2 separate regions of the Homo sapiens genome follow, and region 1 is linked to region 2. The links are contacts of gene promoters, found by promoter capture Hi-C in blood cells and fetal thymus (Javierre and others, 2016). All regions are on one chromosome and are shown on one strand. The core of a region is centred on a gene start or on the middle of the fragment in contact, and the rest is flanking DNA. Distances in the headings are between cores, read along the strand shown.

Region 1 (6,868 bases), core at 2,859-5,358, 600 kb before region 2:
GTTAAATTCCCATGTGGAAATTCTGTAGAGTTGAATGAAGACAATGACAAATGGGTAGAAAAAACTTCCCTTGAATGGACTTCTTGCTATTCTCTCGCTGCCATTTCATTTTGTCAACGATGTAGCTCATTTTCAATAATTAAAGTATGTTACACCCAAATAATCTATCTTCCCCTATTTCTACACTTCTAACTTAGCTTTGCTGCCAAAGCACACTGAAAAAAAGCCGTATGTCAGGACATATAACTTGAGTATTGGGATTTTTGTTCTAAAGGTCTTTTCCTCAAAATGCAATTAGGATCCACATGCAGGAAATCTAAACAGCCACTAGAGGGTGCCAGTCACATAATGACTGAGTAATACCTCCTTCCCCTTTGAGCTATTTCTAAATCTGAAAAGCCAACTGTTCTTGGTAAAGCCTTAGTAAATATGTTTATATTATTTCTCACTTGTGATTTGTAGTGATGTATAAACATGAGACCAGAGATAGCTATGGCCACAATTATTTCACCCTGACGTAAAAATGACTTCTGTGGTCTTCATTACAGGACAAAATGACCAGTCTTTCCTGCCCCTCTGTCATTTTTTTTCTCAGTTGCATAGTTTATCCCATTCTTTTATTGCTCAACTGAATGTCTGTAGGTATACTGACTGACTTTAAAGTGGTCAGATTTATCTTTCCTCCCTTTCTCTGTTTCTGTTTTTCAACCTTTGTTCTTTTTCCCTTATATATTCCCCAGCATTTTTTCTTCTTTATATTCCTTTCTTCAAACATTTTATTCCCAAAAGCAATGTTACAAGAAATAAGAAGGCCATGCTATACAGAACTCTAGGAGTAAGAAAAGCCTAACTTAGGAATTAGATGGAGATAGAATCTGCCTACTTAGTATAACACACCTTTGGGGCTGGTCTTCCACAGCAGGCCCTGAATGAACGTAGACTTCATCAGCAGGACAGAAATGAAATCTCTCAGAGCCCTCCTAGAGGAGGAAAGGGATAAACATGGGTGATTCTAAGGTATCTGGGAATGTAGTTCACTATAATGCACAGTGTTAGGCAAAAGGACAAAAATCTATTACTACTATAGAGAAAAGGTCAAAAGAGCCTATAAACTCAAACAAATATAAAAATTGCCATGCTAGTGAGACCCAAAATCATTTAGGTTTTTATTCTTGAAACAATGTTACAAAGAAAGTTTTGTGGAAATGTTTGGTTGCATATTGTGACTCCCTTAAAATGTCCCTAAAGCATCTGTTTGTCTTTATAATCAATCCACTTTGGCTTTTCATCCCTGAAGTATTTAAATTCTTTTGGAGACTTTTCTATTTCAGCCTGTAAATCCTTTGGAGATTAGAAGCTCCATGTGATTATAGTCATTTATTTATTCAAAAAAGCATTACTGGCCCATGTGGTGGCTCACACCTGTAATCCTAATACATTGGGAGATACACGAGGATTGCTTGAGCCCAGGAGTTTGATACCAGCCTGGGCAACATAGTGAGACCCCGTCTCTACAAAAAATAAAATTAGCTGGGTATGGTAGCACATGCCTATAGTCCCAGCTACTTGAGAGGCTGGGGTGGATCACTTAAGCCCAGGAGGTTGAAGCTGCAGTAAACTGTGATCACACCACTGTACTCCTGCCTGGGTGACAGAGCAAGACCCTGTTTCAAAAACAAACAAAAAACCGAAAAAGCATTATTGTGCACTTAATTTTGTGCCAGGCACTATTTAATGCATGTCCTGAGAATATTAAGATGAAAAGACAGCATCTCCTTACTCTTGAAAAAATCAGCCTAATGAGAAAGGTGCTCTTGTAAATAAAGTGTAAAGAGGTCATCTTGTCTTAAATTACCTTTTGCAAGTATGCCTCCTTCCTCGAGTATTCTGGAATTTATTGAGTAAATTCAAGTAGATGCTAAAACATTTATAAACCAAGATATTCTACAAATATGTTATTCTTGTATTAAGATGTAAGTTTTAAGTGTGTATCATTGTTCTTTCTTTTCTGATTCTGACTTTCAGTCATTCTTCAAAACTGTTTTTCAGTGCCTCCTATGTGCCAGGCACTGTGGTAGGATGCTGGGATACAAATATGAATATGACATTATCTCTGACTCTCCAAGTTATTTATTTCACATCTCCTCTCTCCTCAAACCTCCAACACTTCATCTTTCCTCACTCTCAACTGGTGATCTCAATTTACACTTCACTGAAAGAACAGAAGCCTCAGGCAGTAATTATATCTTCCCACCATCGAATCTACCAACCTACCTGAATCTGAATACATGTTCTCCCTCCTTTCACAATGAGGTTGTCCTTTCCAGGGCTCTGGATCCCATGCCCTCCTGCCTATTTGAGGATTTCACTCCTGCCATTATGTGTCCTCTTTTCTGCATCATGCCTTAGTATTGTCTTGCTTGACTAAACTCTCTCTAGACTCTCCATCCTTGCTGGCTTCTGCCCTCTATCTCAGCATGCCTTCACAGTAAAGCTTATCAAGAGTTGCCTATACTTGCTCTCTCTACTTTCTAACTTCTCTTTCTCTGTTCAACCCACTCCAATTATATGTTCATTGCATCTGCTGAAATAATATTTACCAGATCTGTCACCAGTGACTTTGACCTTGCCAAAGATTATGTCAATTTTCAGTCCTCTCCTATCTGACCACTCTAAATTTGGCAGAGGTGACCATTTCCTCCTATTTAAAATCCATTCTGTAGTTGGCTTCTGTAACCATATGCTCTCAATTTTCCTCCTATTTCACTGGTGTTTCTTCTTGGTTACTTCTTCCTCTACTCAACCCCCCTAATCTCCTTGAATATTTAATTGCCTTCTCACATCTCCACTTGTATTTCTTAAGGCATCTCAAATGTAACAAGACTGAGAAAAATTATTGGTCTTTCCAGAATTTCCTTTTCTCTAGAATTTCTTCCAGAATTTCTCCTTTTCCAGTTTTGTACATCTTGAATAAAGCATCCCCACTCACCTAGTACTTCCTCTCACCACCTTCAAACCAATCCATCAGCAAGTCTTTTCAGCCCCATATGTAAAAAAGAACTTGAATCAAACCTCTTCTCACCACTGTGACAGCTACCACCCTAGTCCAAGTCATCATGTCTTGCTTGGATGACTGCAGTGGCCATCTAATTATTTTCCAGGTTTATCTTCTTGCCCACTATTAGAGAAGCCAGAGAGCCTTCTAAAAACAAAACCACATCTCTGCCCTACTTAACACCCTATGATAATTTTCCATCGCTCTTAGAAAAAAACTGAAGCTCTTTTCCAAAGCCTCTAAGACCTGCATAGCTTTCCTACCACTCTCCCCTTGTTCACTGCACCCTGGCCACATAGGCCTGCTTTACAGCCCTCTCATTTAATGTCAAATGCATTTCTGTCTCAGGCTTTTGCTCTTATTGTTTCCTATGGCTGGAACTCTTCCCATGGCTGGCTCCTTCTCTTTGTTCACTTCCCAGAGCTGTCAGTACAAATTGTCTCCTCAGATCCCTTCACCATTCTATCTAAAATATTCCAGCCACCTATCTCTCACCTGCAAAGTCATTCTGAGCCCCATTACCCTGTTTTATTTCTTCATAACACTTAACATAATCTGAAAGTATCCACTTTTTTTTTTTGTCTCTCTTCTCATTAAATGTAATGAAAGGGCAGGGATCTCATGTGTTTTACTCACCCTTGCATCTCTACTCCAGTGTCTGGCACATAGAGATGTTTGAAAACAGTGATTAAATGAGTGAAAAGTCTAGTCAATGAGTGAAAGAACAGGAAGATGTGAAAGCCAGCAGGTAACAACCCTCGGTGTGATATGAACAGTGACAGAGATAACCAACCAAGGAAACAGTCCATGAAGATAAGTAGCTATGAAATTGCTGGATACTTTTTATATACACCTGACCTAAAATTACATTTTTCTCATTCAGATCTTGAATATTTGAAGATATTAAGTACCTTTTCTTTTCTTTCTTTGTTTTTTTGAGACAGGGTCTCATTCTGTCACCCAGGCTGGAGTGCAGTGGCACCATCTTGGCTCACTACAACCTCCGCTTCCTGGGCTCAAGTAGTCCTCCCATCTCAGTCTCCCAAGTAAATGGGACTACAGGCACACACCACCACGCTTGGTGTATTTTTTGTATAGATGGAGTTTTGCCATTTTGCCTATGTTGGTCTCAAACTCCTGAGCTTATTTGAGCTGCCCACCTCGGCTTCCCAAACTGTTGGAATTACAGGCATGAGCCACTGCGCCCAGCCCTTAAGTACCTTTCATAGAAGAAAGCTCATTTTTTTATTCCTTTCCATTTCCTAGCTCCATGTATTTCTCCCAAATTAAAGCCCATATCTCATTTCTCACCTCCTTTTCATGTACAAAATGTTCTTCCCAAAAACAATAGCAAATAAATAGTTAGAATTAACTGTATCTTTGAAATGCTATAGTTAAATGATTATTTGACTGTGCTAATGGCAGGACAATTGCTTTTATAGCTTCTGTGAAATTCTCTGATATTTACTTCAAAATTAATAGGTGTATTTTAGGTAAATTAACAAAGAGTGTTATATTAAGATTTTTACATCTTTTTTTTTTTAGTCAGGTTCATTGAGGTATAATTTATACACAGTAAAACTCACCCCTTTTAGATATACCTCTGTCAAAAGTATACAGTCATGTACCCACCACCATATAAAGACATAGAACATTTATGTCATCCTAAAGTTTCCTCATGCCTCTTTATAATAAATCACTTCCCCCCCCGGCCCACTGCCTATCATTGACTTGTTTTCTGTCCCTATAGTTTTGCCTTTTCCAGAATGGAATCATGTAATATATACCCTTTTGATCTTTTGATATTGCTTTTGAGATTCATCCATATTGTTACATATATCAGCTGTCCGTTCCTTTTTATTGCTTTATATTTCATTTTATTCCATTGTAATGACTATATTATAAATTTTTTATCCCTTTATATCTTTCTGCGCTGAGTTTTCAGGTATTATATCCAGAAATATTGTTACTTGGCCGGGCGTGGTGGCTCACACCTGTAATCCCAGCATTTGGGAGGCTGAGGTGGGCAGATCACTTGAGGCCAAGAGTTCGAGACCAGCAAGATCAACATGGCAGAACCCCATCTCTACTAAAAATAGAAAAATTAGCCGGGTGTGGTGCTGAGCACCTGTAATTTAGCAACTCGGGAGGCTGAGGCAGGAGAATCACCTGAACTCGGGAGGCAGAGGTTGCAGTGAGCCGAGATCGTGCCATTGCACTCCAGCCTGAGTGACAGAGTGAGTTTCTGTATCAAAAAAAAAAGAAAAAAGAAAAAAGAAAAGAAAAGAAAAAGAAAAGAACTATTGTTATTTTTTGGAAGACATTTTGGTTTTACTAAATAAACATTTTTTGAGCCTCTACCAAGTACCTGTGGATTCTAAGGTGAATAAGATGCATTTTTGTTTTGTGGAGCAGGTGGAAGAATGGAGAATGAGTTTTTTGTTGTTGTTGTTTGTTTTTACAAAGGCCCCAGAGAGGGTAAGTTTTGTTGGGTTGTGAAAACTCTTTGAAACATAAGCACATTAATAATTATGGAATCATTTCACACATCTGTTTTTTACTTCTTTTCACACTTCATCATGTGTGTTCAACTTTATTGATTATAATATTTAGATATATAATTTCCAAATTAAAATTTTAAGATGGGATAATATAGTAATTAAGAATATAAGCTTTAGACCCAGAATAACATTGATTTAATTATTGTGTTCACTTCTTCTTTAGAATTGTAGACAATTGTTTTGTCTTTCCAGAACAGCAATCCCTATTTTTCAGTGAAATGCTTCTTCAAACTGCGTGATTCTCATGGAAGCTGCCACAGCTAGTATCAAACTGAATGGTGAAAAACTGAAAGCCTCTTTTCTAAGATCTGGAACATGGCAAGGATGCCCACTTTCATCACTGTTATTCAACATAGTACTGGAAGTCCTAACTAGAGCAATCAGACAACAGAAAGAAATAAAGGCATCCAAATTGGAATAGAAGAAATCAAACTGTCCTTGTTTGCCAATGATATGATCTTATATTTGGAAAAACTGAAAGAGTCCACCAAAAAACTACTATAAACAAATACACAAATTATAAACAGATTCAGTAAAGTTCCAGGATACAAAATCAACATACAAAAATTAGTAGGATTTCTATATGCCAACAGTGAAAAATCTGAAAAAGAGATTAAAAAAGTAATCCCTTGCTGGAAGTGGTGGCTCATGCCTGTAATCCCAGCACTTTGGGAGGTCGAGGTGGGCAGATCATCTGAGGTCAGGAGTTCAAGACCAGCCTGACCAACGTGGTGAAACCCTGTCTCTACTAAAAATACAAAAATTAGCCGGGTGTGGTGGCGGGCACCTGTAATTCCAGCTACTCAGGAGGCTGAGGCAGGAGAATTGCTTGAACCTGGGAGGTGGAGGTTGCAGTGAGCTGAGGTTGCGCCATTGCACACTAGCCTGGATGCCAAGGGTGAAACTCCGTCAAAAAAAAAAAAAAAAGTAATCCCATTTACAATAGCTACAAGTAAAATTAAATACATAGGAGTTAATCCAAGAAGTGAAAGATCTCTATAATGAAAAGTATAAGACTGATGAAAGAAATTGAAATGGACACCAAAAAATGGAAAGGTATTCCATGTTCATGGATTAGAAGAATGAATATTGTTAAAATGTCCATACTACCCAAAGCAATCTACAGATTCAACGCAATCCCTATCAAAATACCAATGACATTCTTCACAGAAATAGAAAAAAAAAATTCTAAAATTTATATGGAACCACAAAAGACTCAGAATAGCCAAACCTATCCTAATACCACAAAACT
Region 2 (6,694 bases), core at 2,539-5,038:
AAATTAATTCAAACATACTTTATTAAAGTGTATTTCAGACTTATTTGATAGTAGTCCAAAGTAAGACATACATTCACATAGTGAGCAAAGACCTATATACATATAATGGAACAAAACAGTCATAAAGCGGTATTTATGCTCACAACATGCCAGGCACTCTAATGGCTTCCAATATATTAATTAGAAAAAATATACTGGTCCATGACTCACTGAACTGATTTATGACCACTAATGGGCCAAACCTGGCAATCTGAAATCACTGCCTTATTAGATAACCAAGGACACAGTGTTTTGCATTCTTCTGTGGGCAATCAATGAAAACACAAATGAGTAACTAGAGGCAAGCCCCTGAATTGCAAAAGCACTTTCCTAATAGAAACAGCAGACACTAAACTTCTGAACTATCTGAACTATGACTGCTTATGATAAAAACTGATACAATCACTTTACTACGTATATCTTAGTACACATGATTACAAGAGATAACTGGTTTATCAATTTAAGGGCACAGAACTACCTATGTTAAGATTTACAATCCATAATAATAATTTACATGCTAGTCACAACAATTCACTTGAATTCAAATTATAAGGTCTAGATCTTTATGTAAAGCATATTTATAATCAAATTTAAGTCAGTGGATGAAAAGGAGTTGATAATCATTCCAGATACAATTATAAGTCATAGTATTTTCTTAAAAATTAGTAAAAATGGAAGGAGCAGAACCAACTAGAGGTTAAAAATTCTATCGGAAGTGCTTTGGCTCAAATCGTGGGATAATTCTAAGAAATTTCCCTCTGGAAGGATGGCTCATTTGCACACTTGAGGCTTTCCTGATGAATTCCTCAATTCAGGAAGGTAAGTCTATTTTTATAGTATTCACCCTCTTCTTGAAACCATTTCTTTAATTAATCTTGGATTCTGCAAAATGTCAGGACAAATAATAAAACAGTCTAATGTTACAATTACGTAGGAAATTCATTGACTTTATCACAAGCCTAATTATTTTTAATCTTGTAAATTACATGTTTGCTATATTGACTAAACATTAACCTTGTACTTGGGTTAATGTTTGTCATTAACATTAATGTTTATGTTTGTTCTCCGCTCTCTTCATTCTTATAATACACACCCAATATCACTGAGTATAAGCATCACCACAACTTAGCCTACCATTAGATCTGGAGTTGTATAAGAATTTTTTAAATACCATGATTCAACCGGTCAAACACCCTTACAACAAAGAACTGGGCAAAACAGTCCTATAATGGTCCACTTACAAACTATTTGATTTCATAAAATTCCAGTGAGACAAAAAATCTGGGCAGAGGTCATAACATTTTTTAAAAAATTAGAACTAGAAGAGACCTTGTAAGAAATTTAACTGAACTCTTGACCCAACACGTACATTTTCTCAAAAATAAGTGATTTGTTCAGTTTACTTAATTTCTTCAGTGAAGCGGAACTGTTCCAAGTAGTACATCCCAATTTGGAGCTCTGGGTGTTACAAAGTTCTTTTACATAGAAACAAAATGTGCCTCCCCTTTTGCTCTTACCAAGCAGTCATAGTTTCCCTACAGTATGATGCCATTCCTTCAAGTTTTCCTGAAATGTTTTCTAGTTTCTTTAGTTTTATCCTACTGTTATGAAGCACCCTAAATAAAACACTAGAAACCAGAATTAGTCCTTTGAACAATGTTTTACAAACTGTGGTGTGTGACTCTGAGCATCAAGAAATCAACATTTTAAAAATTAAAATAAAAGAAAAAATCAGAATATACGGTATAAGGGCTAATATCTTTTTGTGAAACCTGTTTCAGATATACTGATTATACAACTATTAACTGGATTGCAAAGTAAAATGTACTTCTTACTGTGTTTGCAGTCAGAAACTCTTTTGAGTCACTACTTTAGAGTATGCTATTGTGAGATAGGTAAAATTTCACCCAATAATATCAATATACGTGCAAAATTCTGTATTGAACTACCACCAACAGTACTGGAAGAAATTAAGAGTCTATGTACCGAATACAGAAATATTTATCTGTGGGAGAAACAGCCAAAGTAGGTGGTTTAAATAAAACAAAACATACACACTGAGCTGGAACGTGAACACAGAATATGGTACAGACTCAGATTCCTACTAAAGTTACAAGCAAGAGTTCTCATCTCTTGATGGGCACTGACCCCAACAACAGGCCTGGGCACAGGTCCAGCACTTAACTCAGAGGGATGCCGTGTGCTGCTGCATGGTCTGTTACCAACATCTCATAGAAGAGAGCAGAAACCACTTAGGAACACAGCTGATTTAGGAAGGTTTTTCTAAACACACATAGTTTAGGAAGGTTTTTCTCTTAATTAAGATTTATCTTTCTGATGGAACCAGATGACAGGGAGATAGATGCCTGCATGGTGAGCGTTTTCATATATTACCTCTTAATTCTCACAACAACCTGATGAGGAAGGTGTTATTATCCAACTTTAAAGTAATTTTCCAAAGTCATATAGCTCCTAAATCTAAAGATTTTGTTATTTTTTAAATACTAAAATTGTCCCATACCACCAATATGCACAATGTGCAGTGGATGACTATCCGCTCAGAAATGGCCAACAAATAGGTAACAAGTTTGTAATTCCAGATTAATCTCTGTCACCTCCAACTAGTGACTAGTCTTTTTATTTTCCAGTTTTTACAAAACTTTAATTTTTGAATTGATAGATTATATTTGTACATATTTATGGGGCACATGTGATATTCTGTTACATGCATAGAATGTACAATGATATTGTTACATGCATAGAATGTGTACTGATAAAGCATACATAGACGCACAGATAAGTGCATAAAATGTGTAATGACTAAAGTCAGGGTATTTAGGGTATTCCAAAGCCAAAATTGAGTGCTTACTCATTTGCCTCACTGCAATAGAGAGTCTAATGTCAACATTCTAAAAGTTAGGTGTACTATGAATACTACTTCATCTGAATGCACCAAAGGATAATCTCCGAAAATATTCCTTTACCTGGACAGGGTGGGGGAAGGAAGCGAGAGATGTGGAGAGAGACGGAGCGACGTCCTGGCCCTCTGTGACCTCCGTGCCAGGAAGAGGGACCCAGGATGTTTGAGAGTTTTGCTACCAGCCTTAAGCACCGAGAGAGGTGTCACTCAGTGCGCAGCTGCACCGGCTAAGTTTTTTAGACGCGTTGCCCTCGGCAGCGGGTTTGGACCCAAGGTCGCGTCGACACTGGCCTCAGCATCTGACCGCGGGCGGAGCCCAGGTGCGCGCGAGGCCCTGCCACCCTCCCTCGCCCGCGGGCGCTTCTCCCTTGCCGGAACCGCCCGGCCCCGCCCGAGGCCTGCCCCGGGAGCCCCGCGGCGAGTGTCGCCACGCTCACCTCCTCGCTGTGCGTGGACGGGCACTTCTTCCGCAGGCGGCCCCAGTTCAGCAGGTTCCCCGTCTGCAGGTGCAGGGTGCGGGCCCGCGCCAGGAGCGCCTTGGCCGCGCGGCTGTCGGTGCCCATGGCAGCGGCCGCCCAGGGGCCGCGCAGCGAAGGGGCTGCGGGCGGGCGGGCAGGCAGGCGGCCGCCCCACAGGACGCGGTGCCCGAGGCCCGAGAGAGACCCGAGAGGGAGCGCGAGGCTGCCGGCGCCGCGCGGCTGGAGCCTGGTCTGCGCTCGGGCCCGAGGGAGGCCGGACGGCGGCTGGGCGGCGGCGGGAAAGGAAGGCACCGGTGGCTGCGGCTCCGGCTCCGGCTACTGCGGCCGCAGCGGGAGAGCTGATTCCAAACTGAGGGAGCTGTTTCCTGGAAGACAATGACTAAGCAGAAATCGTAGCCGAGAAAGTGCTTCGTAACCGTTACTCATCCCGCGGCGGGGCAGGGGCGGGGCGCGAATGGGCTGCGGGACGCCGGCCCGCAAGTGACTGGCCCTTGGCCTGCGGCGGGCGTGGCGACGGGTGGTGCGCGGCGGGCGCGCGGGTCGAGAGAGCGTGGCGGCGCGGCCCGGAGCGCAGCGCGCGGCAGGGCTCCCCCTGGCGGTCAGAGGACAGCGCGAGGCAGACACCGCCTCCGCCTGGTGAGGTAGACACCGCCTCCGCCTGGTGAGGTCTCCCGGCGTTCAGGTCGCGGCTCCGCCCACGGCCGCCCCAGGGTGGGCTTCCTACACGTCTCTTTAAAGGGCAGCCTGAGCGGCCACCGGGACTCGGAAATGCTACGTAGTTTTCGTTCTCAGAAGCAGCTGTTTATGCGCAAGCGCCCCCTTCTTCTTTTCGCTTTGCTACCTTCAAGGACCTTCTCCCAAACTGCTAATTTTTCTTCATCCGTTAAAGGTCTATTGATTCACATTATTTGCTGGCAGTGTGTGAAGTCAACGAACAAGACTGAGTCTTTGCCCTTGAGACGCGTACACTCTACCCAGAGACAAGTTCTAAGCACAGGAAACAAGTAATTTTATAAGAACATCATAGGGCAGTTATTCTCCAGATGAATTCAGATTAAAGAGGACACTTGAGCCGGTGAGATCACAGAAAGCTTTTATCACCCACCCCTTTAGAGGTGGTCGAGATTATTTACCCCTATTAAATTTCACGTGTGGTGGTGGACTCGGTATAAACATCAAATTGAACATGTATTGAGCTTTCCTCAACAATCTTTCACATTCGTTGAGGTGAATCAGATTATTAAAGGCAAAATGAGATTCTCATTATAAGCGGGGACAATATAGCTATTGAAAAGAGAGATGAACCAGTTGGTAAAATGGTAAGAATTAGGGGAGGGATGGGAAAAAAGATCTTTCTAGGAAGTTAGAAATTGAGCCTGATGTTGAGTAAATATTTGTTGGCTGAATGAATGATGGTAAGAGTTCATTGAACGAGCTTGCGCTGCTTTTTTTTTTTTTTTTTGGATATTGATTTTTTATTATAGTGAAAGAGCTACCCACAAGCACCACCACTACTTAAACACATTTTGATGCACTGTAACATACAATTAACATTTGTTGTAAATAATTCCAACATATACAAAAATAGCAAGAATACTATAATGAAACCCGATATAACTATCTTCTGAACTCAAGATTGAATAAGATTTGTCTATACTTTTTGTTTTATAATACTTTAAGTTCTAGGGTACATGTGCACAATGTGCAGGTTTGTTACATATGTATACAAGTGCCATGTTGGTTTGCTGCACCCATTAATTCGTTATTTACATTAGGTATTTCTCCTAATGCTATCCCTCCGCCAACCCCCCACCCCATGACAGGCCCCAGTGTGTGATGTTTCCCACCCTGTGTCCAAGTGTTCTCATGGTTCAATTCCCACCTATGAGTGAGAACATGCAGCGTTTGGTTTTCTGTCCTTGCGACAATTTGCTCAGAATGATGGTTTCCAGCTTCATCCATTCCCTACAAAGGACATGAACTCATCCTTTTTGATGGCTGCATAGTATTCCATGGTGTGTATGTGCCACATTTTCTTAATCCAGTCTATCATTGATGGACATTTGGGTTGGTTCCAAGTCTTTGCTATTGTGAATAGTGCCAAAATAAACATACCTGTGCATGTGTCTTTATAGTAGCATGATTTATAATCCTTTGGGTATATACCCAGTAATGAGATCGCTAGGTCAAATGGTATTTCTAGTTCTAGGCCCTTGAGGAGTCACCACACTGTCTTCCACAATGTTGAACTAGTTTACACTACCACTGACAGTGTAAAAGTGTTCCTAGTTCTCCACATCCTCTCCAGCACCTGTTGTTTCCTGACTTTTTAATGATTGCCATTCTAACTGGTGTGAGATGGTATCTCATTATGGTTTTGATTTGCATTTCTCTGATGACCAGTGATGATAAGCATTTTTTCATGTGTCTGTTGGCTGCATAAATGTCTTCTTTTGAAAAGTGTCTGTTCATATACTTTGCCCACTTTTTGATGGGGTTGTTTGATTTTTTCTTGTAAATTTAAGTTCTTTGTAGATTCTGGATATTAGCCCTTTGTCAGATGGGTAGATTGCAAAAATTTTCTCCCATTCTGTAGGTTGCCTGTTCACTCTGATGGTAGTTTCTTTTGCTGTGCAGAAGCTCTTTAGTTTAATTAGATCCCATTTGTCTATTTTGGCTTTTGTTGCCATTGCTTTTGGTGTTTTAGTCATGAAGTCCTTGCCCATGCCTATGTCCTGAGTGGTATTTCCTAGGTTTTCTTCTAGGGTTTTTATGGTTTTAGGTATAACATTTAAGTCTTTAATCCATCTTGAATTAATTTTTGTATAAGGTGTAAGGAAGGGATCCAGTTTCAGCTTTCTACATATGGCTAGCCAATTTCCCCAGCACCATTTATTAAATAGGGAATCCTTTCCCCATTTCTTGTTTTTGTCAGGTTTGTCAAAGATCAGATGGTTGTAGATGTGTGGTGTTATTTCTGAGGCCTCTATTCTGTTCCATTGGTCTGTATCTCTCTTTTGTACCATGCTGTTTTGGTTACTGTAGCCTTGTAGTATGGTTTGAAGTCAGGTAGCATGATGCCTCCAGCTTTGTTCTTTTTGCTTAGGATTGTCTTGGCAATGCAGGCTCTTTTTTGGTTCCATATGAACTTTAAAGTAGTTTTTTCCCATTCTGTGAAGAAAGTCATTGGTAGCTTGATGGGGATGGCATTGAATCTATAAATTACCTTGGGCAGTATGGCCATTTTCACACTATT

The links. The method cuts DNA at HindIII sites, captures the fragments that hold promoters and counts their contacts. A CHiCAGO score of 5 or more calls a contact.
Region 1: a fragment that was not itself captured here is called in contact with the fragment with the promoter of GCLM in region 2 in 2 of 17 cell types (neutrophils and naive CD8 T cells); the score reaches 6.8 in neutrophils.

Annotation. Positions count from the first base shown.
Region 1 is chr1:93,304,491-93,311,358 of GRCh38, forward strand. It overlaps CCDC18-AS1 (CCDC18 antisense RNA 1), which reads right to left. Exons shown (of 9, transcript NR_034089.1): 9 at 5,619-6,868. Among named protein-coding and RNA genes, the nearest start is that of CCDC18-AS1, 38 kb to the right of the region's middle. The HindIII fragment of the contact is 3,233 bases long and covers 2,493-5,725 here.
Region 2 is chr1:93,905,642-93,912,335 of GRCh38, forward strand. GCLM (glutamate-cysteine ligase modifier subunit) reads right to left here and starts at 3,789. Exons shown (of 7, transcript NM_002061.4): 1 at 3,397-3,789. The coding sequence starts at 3,522. LOC124904221 (a long non-coding RNA gene) reads left to right here and starts at 3,951. Exons shown (of 2, transcript XR_007066230.1): 1 at 3,951-4,513. RefSeq lists silencers at 3,203-3,252, 3,303-3,662, 3,873-4,112 and an enhancer at 4,153-4,312. The HindIII fragment of the contact is 5,335 bases long and covers 1-4,527 here.